2 separate regions of the Homo sapiens genome follow, and region 2 is linked to region 1. Evidence: promoter capture Hi-C in 16 types of primary human blood cells and fetal thymus (Javierre and others, 2016). All regions are on one chromosome and are shown on one strand. Each heading gives the region's core, a stretch centred on a gene start or on the middle of the fragment in contact. The rest is flanking DNA. Distances are from core to core; before and after follow the strand shown. Region 1 holds the start of UBE2L6 (ubiquitin conjugating enzyme E2 L6). Region 2 has its middle 66 kb from the start of CTNND1.

Evidence for each region. The method cuts DNA at HindIII sites, captures the fragments that hold promoters and counts their contacts. A CHiCAGO score of 5 or more calls a contact.
Region 2: a fragment that was not itself captured here is called in contact with the fragment with the promoter of UBE2L6 in region 1 in 1 of 17 cell types (neutrophils); the score reaches 9.0 in neutrophils.

What each region holds. Positions count from the first base shown.
Region 1 is chr11:57,565,429-57,569,963 of GRCh38, forward strand. UBE2L6 (ubiquitin conjugating enzyme E2 L6) reads right to left here and starts at 2,244. Exons shown (of 4, transcript NM_004223.5): 1 at 2,157-2,244. The coding sequence starts at 2,183. RefSeq lists an enhancer at 645-994 and a silencer at 2,248-2,607. The HindIII fragment of the contact is 19,025 bases long and covers 1-4,535 here.
Region 2 is chr11:57,825,356-57,829,890 of GRCh38, forward strand. No RefSeq gene overlaps it. Among named protein-coding and RNA genes, the nearest start is that of CTNND1, 66 kb to the left of the region's middle. The HindIII fragment of the contact is 5,724 bases long and covers 1-4,535 here.

The DNA.
Region 1 (4,535 bases), core at 994-3,493:
ATCACAGCTCACTGCAGCCTCAACCTCCTGGGCTCAGGTGATCTTGCTACCTCAGCCTCCCAAGTAGCTAGGACTACAGCAGTGTGCTACCATGCCCGGCTAATTTTGGTACTTTTTGTAGAGATGGGGTTTGGCTGTGTTACCCAGGCTGGTCTCGAACTCCTAGGCTCAAGCAGTCCGCGAACCTCAGCCTCCCAAAGTGCTGATATTACAGGAGTGGGACACCACGCCTGGCCTTCATTAGTTTTCATTTTGCTTGTTTGTTTATGTAATCAGTGTTAACTTGTCATCAGTTTAAAATAACAGGTTATAAGATATTATTTACAAACCTTGTAGTAACCTCAAATCTAAAAACATACAATGGATACATAACAGTTATGTGACCCAAAATGTCAGTAGTGATGAGGTTGAGAAACTGAAGCTCTCCAAACCCAGTCCACAAGTGGGGAGGGGTCCTTTAACACTGTGGACCATTTGAACTTTCTCTGCCTTACCCCCACCCCCAACATATAATATAAACACATCCCATGCCCCCCTCCTATCCCTCAGCCTATGTTCTATTTCTGTTCAACCAATAAGCTGCTTCTGGTGCCTTCCACCCAGGGTCAATGGCCCTTCATTTATCTTTACCCCAAACTAGAAGCATCTGCACTTGTAAGAGTTTCTCTATCATCTGTGACTCTTTGGCAAGAACAAAGCCCAGGGCTGACCGGAGAAGATCTGGAATAGACATTTTCCAGGTCTTGGAAAGATAAAGACACTTGAACTTTATCTGTTTAGGATGAGTTCTGCCAGAACTTTCCCAAAGCCTGAGGAAGTTGAAACCCAACCTAAAACACACAGTTCTTTCCTACTGCCTACTAGGAAATCACCTGACTCAGAGGAACAGAAAATGAAAGTAGAAAGGCCATTAAGAGAGCCTGCAGGCTGGAGGCCTGTGGACCTGGTTTCATATTCCAGTCCCATTGCTCCTTACTGAAAGACTCTGGACAAGCAAGTTATTTCCTCTGTGCCTCAATTTCCTCATTTGTAAAATGCGGGTATATATTACTTATCTCACAGAACTGCTGTGCGAATTAGATGAAATAACCATGTAAACCGTTTGGCATGTAATGGTTCCAATGCAATAAATTCTGGCTCCCATCTCTCTTCCACTTGGCTGGAAAGACCCTCTGCCTCATTTTGCTGCCAACCTCCAGATTTAGTATCTAGGCCAAGCCTGCTCTGGGCATCCCAGTCTGAGGCCATTTTCTTCTCAGAGGCTGAGGGTAGCAGGCACCCTCTTCCTAGAGCCTGCCCCTCCACCCTGCAGACTGGAAGGGGCACTTCTGAAAGACTTGGGGTGCCAGACTCACTTCACCAGGATCACCTTCCTCCCTAATCCATCTCCAAACACCCTGGGTTTTCCCACCTTCTGGAGGAAACTGCCCCCTCCCCATCCTTCCAGATCTTATTTCAAATTGTGTCCCTGATAGGAACAAAATTCAACAAGGGCCGGATTTGTGTTCATCTCTGCCCGCCCCCCCCCCCCTCCTAGAACAGGGCCAGCACATGTAGGCATTCAACACTTGTAGAACTCACGAACGCAAGCCACCTACTCCAGGAGGCCTTCCAGGTCCACCTCCGCATCTTTTCCTCCAGAGAATACTCAGGGAACTTTGTCCCAAATTCTAATCAGCATTCCGTGTTTCTCAGGACTCTAGTAATACAGGCATCAAATTATGGGATGGGCTATGGGCTTATTCCAAGGCAAGGACTTCATCCTGGTCATCTGTGTTCATAACCCACCACCAGCAGTAGCAGAATGCCTGGCACCAAGATGCCAAGGACTTTTCCTGCACTGGAGATGCACCCAGTTGTTATCACAAGTTTCAGGCAGGAAAAGCGAAATTGAAACCAGTTTTGGGGGAGCCGGCTCATCTTCACCACGCGAACGGCTCAAGCAGAGGCCTCCAAACCCCCAAAACCCCAGCTCTGGCCACTCTTGCAGGCCAGTCCTCCTCTGAGTAGAGGGCGGGGAGGACAGGGATTCAGCCAGCCCTGGTGCCCAGACAAATAAATAAATGTGCTCGGAGAGCCGCGGAGGGGATGGAGGGAGGAGGGAATGCGGGAGGCGAGGGGAGCCAAGAGAAAGGGGTCATCCTATACGCGGTTACCTTCACCACTCGCATGCTCGCCATCATGTCGGGACCGAGTGTGTGGCACCCGTGGCCTCCAGCAGGACCGAGCTCCGACCCGCGACACAGCGCGCCCCGCCCCGCCCCGGGGACCCCACCCCCGGCAGCCCCGCCCACCCCTCCTCCAGCCGTCGCTGCGTGGGCCTCCCCGCACCCGCTCCGGCGAGGCCAGGAGGCCGTCGAAGGACGACCCGCCGGACAACCGCCCGATCCCCGCGCGGAAGGCTCGGACCCGGGACTCACGGTCTTTGTGCGGAGACGGGGGCGGGCCTCGGGGCGCACGGCTTTGCTGATCCCTGCCTCCCGCGGGGTGCGCCGTGCACCGGCGGCGAGCGCTCAGGGGCGCTGGGGGGCGCTCATACGGGTTCCAGTCTTCGCTCCGCCGGCGGCCGCACCGGGAGCTCTCCGGTCTTTGTCAGCCCCCTGCACGCCGCCCCAAATACACACTCGCCCTGAATAAATAAGGGATGCTCGCTGTACAGACGCAGCTCCGTGACAGTTCTCAGCGGCCTCCACTATCGGACTGCCGCCTTGAGCCCCTGCCCCAGCAAGCTGCCGGAGCCGCCGAGCCTGCCGCCTTCCCTCCATGGGCCCAGCGCTCCATCTCCGAAACTGCGTGGGGGATGGCGTAGACCTGTGCCCTCCGAGCACCGCTCCCCGGCAGTCGGGGATCCTTTGTGCTGCCCGGCGTTCGGCGCGGGCTGCAACGTTTCTCCCCGTGGCTTGGGGCAGAGCACCGCAAGGAGGCGCTGTTGGACCCTTTCTCTTTTGCTTTGGGGGTTCGGTCTACCATCATTCAGTCCTTTACTAGGTTTAGTATTTACTAAGTGCCTACTGTATGCTGGTTTGGGAAACAGTTGGTGGGGGAAGCCCCAAGAAGGACTCAGGAGCCTCCTTTCCAAGAGAGAGTCTGCTTCCCCTCCCTTACTTTACTACTGGTCCATTACAAGCTGTGGGCCTAATGTGTGCCCCCATGCACAGCTGGAGTCCCCAACCCTCTGTGCAAGGACAGAGTACTTGCAGCCCCTGAGCACCAAGCAGCATCTGGGGAAGATGAGACTTGTTGGGAGGGCCGATCCCCTCCTTCTCACCCTTCCCTACCCCCGTTTAGTCCAGACGAGAAAGGAAATCAGTATATTTTGAGCACCAGTTTGTGATCTCAGTACCTCACAGTTTTTTTGTTTCTTGTTTTTCTGACAGAGTTTCACTGTCGCCCTGACTGGAGTTCAGTGGCGATATCGGCTCACTGCAACCTCCGCCTCCCGGTTCAAGCTGTTCTCGTGCCTCAGCCTCCTGAGTAGCTGAGATTTACAGGCGCGCGCCACCACGACCGGCTCATTTTTGTATTTTTAGTAGAGTCAGGGTCTCGAGCTCCTGGTTTCAAGTAATCCACCCGCCTCGGCCTCCCAAAGTGTTGGAATTACAGGCGTGAGCCACCGTAATGTTTTTATCCAAGTATTTTGAAACCAAATGACTTCTCTGCTCAGATTTTGCAGAACGATTAATTGTTTCATTCAATTCAATGAACTTTAACAGCATTTTCTATATGCCCGAAATGAATAGGACACTCCGTAATCCCTTAACAGGGGTAGAGATGAGGGAACAAAGACATTCGAACCTGCCTGTGATCAATAGTCTCAGTCAACAAGCGCCTACTACTGAGTGGCAGGCATTGCCAATAGGAAACACCAGGATGAGAAAGGGGAGTCCCTGCTCCTGAGGAGTTAGTTCCCAGACTACTGGGACAGAGGGAGAGAATGCAGCCCCTGATTTTTAATGATAATGCTATAGAGAATCACCTGGTACTCTGGGAGTATGAGGAGGGTCACTTTATCCCTCTTCAGGGAGGGGCAGAGGTTTCCCGGAAGAGAGAAAAATCCAAGTGTATTGTGAAACATGATGAGTCAGCGAGAAGTAAGAGCGTGGGATGAAGATGTTCTAACAAGAGGGAACAGCATGAGCAAACGGGGCAGTGTCTATGGAAACTGGAGCAAAAGCCTCTGTCCACGTATCGTAGCTCTCCTTTTCTTTTCTTACAGGAACGCTGCATCCCGAGGTGAATTAACAGTCATGGATATAGCTGGGTCCTAAGTCCCCACACAGTGGGGCAGCCCACTGGTGTGCCTTTCATGTCCTTTCACAATGCAGACCTTTGTGTGTCAGAACAAGCCCCAGGGAGACCTGGGTTCTAGTTCCACATCTGCCCCCATGTGCAGTTATGGCCTTGGGTGGTCGGCGGAAACTCCTATCTGCTTGCCAGGACCATTGTGAGGCTAAGCTGAGGGAAGTGGAGGAACTTAGAATATTGTAAGTCGCCGGGCGCAGTGGCTCACGCGTGTAATCCCAGCACTTTGGGAG
Region 2 (4,535 bases), core at 1,157-3,656, 260 kb after region 1:
ATATTAAACTACTCAGCACAAAATTCAGGCTCTGGAACCAAATTGTCTGAGTTCAAGTCCTTGCTGTGCTACTTTAGCTGTGTGACCTTGAGCAAATTTCTAAAGCATTTGGTACCCTTCATCATGGGAAGAATAATATCTACATATTATGAAGATGTAATGAGATAATGAATGTAATTGGACTTAAAACAGTACCTGGCACATAGTGTATTATTACTATTGTATTTGTCACCAGGTGCTTTTACATATATATGCATATAATTAGCTATGCGATTGCTCAGTTATTATGTCCAACTACTTCAGGGATGATTTCAAGGGGAACTCAAAGTGACAAGCAAGTGGTATACATGTCCACACCCTAGATTAGGAAAAGATAGCCTTAGTCTTTTGGTGGGTACTTAGACCTCTTTTGTCCAGGCTCTGTTGTAGGTGCTTAAGTGTTAGGACCTTTAGGAATGATTCTTGCAAAAGTGAATGTTAAAGGCTTAGAGATTACTATGGCACGCCCACATGGAAGCATCTGTTTATTCTGGTAGTGCTTGTGACAACACATAGACTTCTCAGAACCAAGATGAGAAAAGACATCCTCACAAGATATCAAGGTTTTTCTGTGTGTCTGAAACCTCAAGAGATAAAGGAGTAATCTTTGGGCATGAGAACCCATGAGAGATATGAAGGGATTTAATTGAATGAAAGAATGAATAAAAAGCTACATACATTTATTAAGTATTTTGTTGTATGTTAGGCCCTATACTGGTGATAGACAGACATGTAGTGAGCACATGTCCTCAAGGAACATTTGGTAAATTACTCCAAGGGCAAAGGGTTTCAAGCAGTGAAGTCCTTAGATCACTAGCTATAGAGAAGAGTATGGAGAAGAAAAGACTGGATGATCAGAGGAAGCTGCAAGATTCTAGGCAAGGGATAATGGTGGCTTAGACTAGGTCATATAGTATAGAAAGAAAAGAATATTTCCAGTTCAGTAATGTTAACAGGTAATATTTAGCGCTGTGTGAAACTTTCTAAGTACTTTGAATATATTGACATTTAATCACACGAACCCTATACGTAGGGGAATGACATGAACATATATAATAGTAGCAAATATTTTGGGGCTAACCTTCGTGCTAGGCTTCACATGCTCTGTCACCCAGGCTGGAGTGCAGAGACTGTGATCTTGGCTCACAGCAACTTCCACCTCCCAGATTCAAACAGTTCCTGCCTCAGCCTCCCAAGTAGCTGGGATTACAGGCATGTACCACCACATCTGCTTAATTTTTCTATTTTTAGTAGAAATGGGGTTTTACCATGTTGGCCAGGCTGGTCTTGAACTCCTGACTTCAGGTGATCTGCCTCCCTCGGCCTCCCAAAGTGCTGGGATTACAGGCATTAGCCACCACACCCAGCCATATATGCATTATTCTTGTTTAATATTTTCCACAACTCTGTGATTCTCCCCATCTTATAGCAGTTAAGTAACTTGCCTTAGGTTACACTCAGTGACAAAGGTTAAACATTTTTTTGTTTTTGATCAGATTTGTTTGATTAGAAATGCTGTGGGTTTTTCTTTTACTACTAACATAAATTGCTTCAGAAGGTAGAATTGGTAGAACATAGGGTGAGGAGAAGAGTTGAGAAGAACATAGGGTGAGGAGAAGAGTTGCCTGGGCAACATGGTGAAACCCTCTCTCTACTAAAAATACAAAAAATTAGCTGGGTGTGGTGTCATGGGGCTTCTGGTCCCAGCTACTTGGGAGGCTGAGGTGGGAGGATGGCTTAAGCCTGGGAGGCAGAGGTTAGAGTGAGCCAAGGTCATGCCACTACACTCCAGCCTGGGTAACAGAGTGAGACCCCATCTAAAAAAAGTAAAACAAAAAAGGAATGATTTTCTGATATCTGGGTGATATCAGCCACTGATTGAGACAGGAAACAGTGGCAAGTAGAAGGATATGTTGGAAGAGAAAAATTTAGTTACAAGTAAAGTTCGAAGTGATTGAGGAACACTGAAGTGGAAGTATCCAATAGGCAGCTGGATATGTGACACTAGGGCTCAAAAGAGGCCTGGATTCTGAATACAGATTTGACGGTCTACTTTAAGCAATGTACTTTAAGCTATAAGAGTATATGAGATGGCCCAGGGAGTGTAAGTATGAGAAGAGTGGAGAGTTTAGATCTGAACCCTGTTGGTACATAAATATTTAAGAAGGGAAAGGAGACCCTGAAAGACTAGGGAACTAGTCTGATTTAGGAGAATATTTTTGTTTGTTTTTAAATTTTCTTTTTTTTCTTTCTTTTTTTTATTTTTTGAGAGAGAGTCTCACTCTGTTGCCCAGGCTGGAGTGCAGTGGCGCGATCTCAACTCACTGCAACCTCCTCCTGGGTTCAAACAATTCTCCTGCCTTGGCCTCCCAAGTAGCTGGGATTACAAGTGCGTGCCAACAAACCTGGCTAATTTTTGTATTTTTAGTAGAGACGGGGTTTCGCCATGTTGGCCAGGCTGGTCTTGAATTCCTGGCCTCAGGTGATCCGCCCACTGTGGCCTCCCAAAGTGAGGCTTGAACCACCACACCCAGCCTGTTTGTTTTTTTTAAGAAGCCAATGCTGCTTCCCATTGCAAAGTAACTAACAAAAAAGTAGGGTTTGCTTTGATCTGTTTCATCGTTGGAGGATATTTAATTTTTCTTCCAATCTTCCTACAATATTTGGATCTTTGGGGTCTGGAACCCTAGAGAGCATGGATTCAGTCTTCCATTTAATTCTCCTTCCCTCTGGTATAAAACCAGGATTCAGAATCCAGAAAGGCCACCTTACCGATTGGGCAAAATGGGCAATAGTTCCAGTTCTTCCCACCATCAGGCCTGTGTCTGACTGTCCTGCCTCATCCTGTTCTCCCTACTCCTCTCTTGCTTGTCCCTTGATCCCTCTCTTTCTTTGCTTTCCTCTTCATTTATTTCCACTAGTTCTCTAGTTGCTTCCACTCCAGACCTCTACGACCAGGCAGCCTATCAAGAATTACAAATCTGGTTTTATTTCTCCTGCTCAAAAGTTTGTCCCTCAAAGAGTGGTTAGCATAGCCAATAGGGCACAGCCATATTCCACCCTGTGACTTATAGGAGGAAGCTACTTCATGTGAGGTGGTCCCCCTTGGTGAGTCCTTCCTGCAGAGCAGAGATTGCCAGCTTACTTAGGGTAGTCCTGAGTCCTGGAGGACTGACAGGACTGACTAAGAACCCATATACTCCTTTACTCTGTCTGCTTTTGTCCCTTACTCTGATTCCAACAGACTCATTGCCACATAAACCCAGGCTTTCAGGGGTCAGATGGGACCAGTGCGGGCTGGGGATTTCTCCTTATTGAGCAGCTCTCTACCTATAAGGCCAGTAAAATACCAAGTACAGAGCATAGTAGGTGCTGAACATAGGCGTACATAGTAACCACTAGTGATAGTTGAGATAATGAATGAGTGTCCTTTGCTGGCAGAGCCCATCACCAGCCAGGAGTCTCCACCTCCAGCAACAGTGGAGTGGACCTTCAGCACACACCCCAACCCCACCTTGCCTCACCCTGACCCCATTCTGCCTCATAGATCGATTATTTTTAATATTTTGGTTTAAATTAAAAGACCCTATATGACTTTTTAAAATAACATGATTTAACACGGCAGATTACGGAATTAAAATTCTTGCCTCTCTTTTATGTCACTCCCCAGGAATAACTACTCTTAACCATTTGTTACATATCCTTTCAGATATCTTTCTCCAAGTGCTTATTCAACAAAGACTTCTTTTTTATTTTTTATTTTGAGACAGAGTCTCGCTCTGTCGCCCAGGCTGATTTCCGCTCACTACAACTTCTGCCTCCCAGGTTCAAGTGATTTTCCTGCCTCAGCCTCCCAAGTAGCTGGGATTACAGGTGTGGGCCACCATGCCCGGCTAATGTTTGTTTTTAGTAGAGATGGGGTTTCTCCATGTTGGCCAGACTGGTCTCGAACTCCTGACCTCAAGTGATCCACCTGCCTCAGCCTCCCAAAATGTTGGGATTACAGGTGTGAGCCACCATGCCCAGCCACAAACATTTATTTCTAATGGAATGTATGATGTACATATTCTGCAATTTTGTTTTTTTCCCATAAAGCATGTCATGGACATCTTTCTACCATAGTGCATATTAGTCTTCCTTGTTTTCCTCGTGATTGCCTATTTTACCATTATAAGTCTGTGCCATTTTAGACCTGGTATCTTCCTGCTTCTGGGCAATCTTTTTGTGGCCAACATGGAAGTCTATAGCCCACTTAGGAGACATTTTTCCCAGTATGGAACCTCAGTCCAGAGCCCATGATCCTGTGGTTAGGATGAGCAGACAGTATGGCCGCTTTGCCCCCTCTCTGGACAATTCAGCCTTATCAGCCTCCAACTCACTTCCCCAGAGGATTTGGAAATATGCTTCCTACTGCTCTGTGCCCCTGGGCAGAGATGCTAAGTATCCTGTCCACCCCTTCCTTCGGAACATAACACAGAGGATTTTTGGCTTTTTAA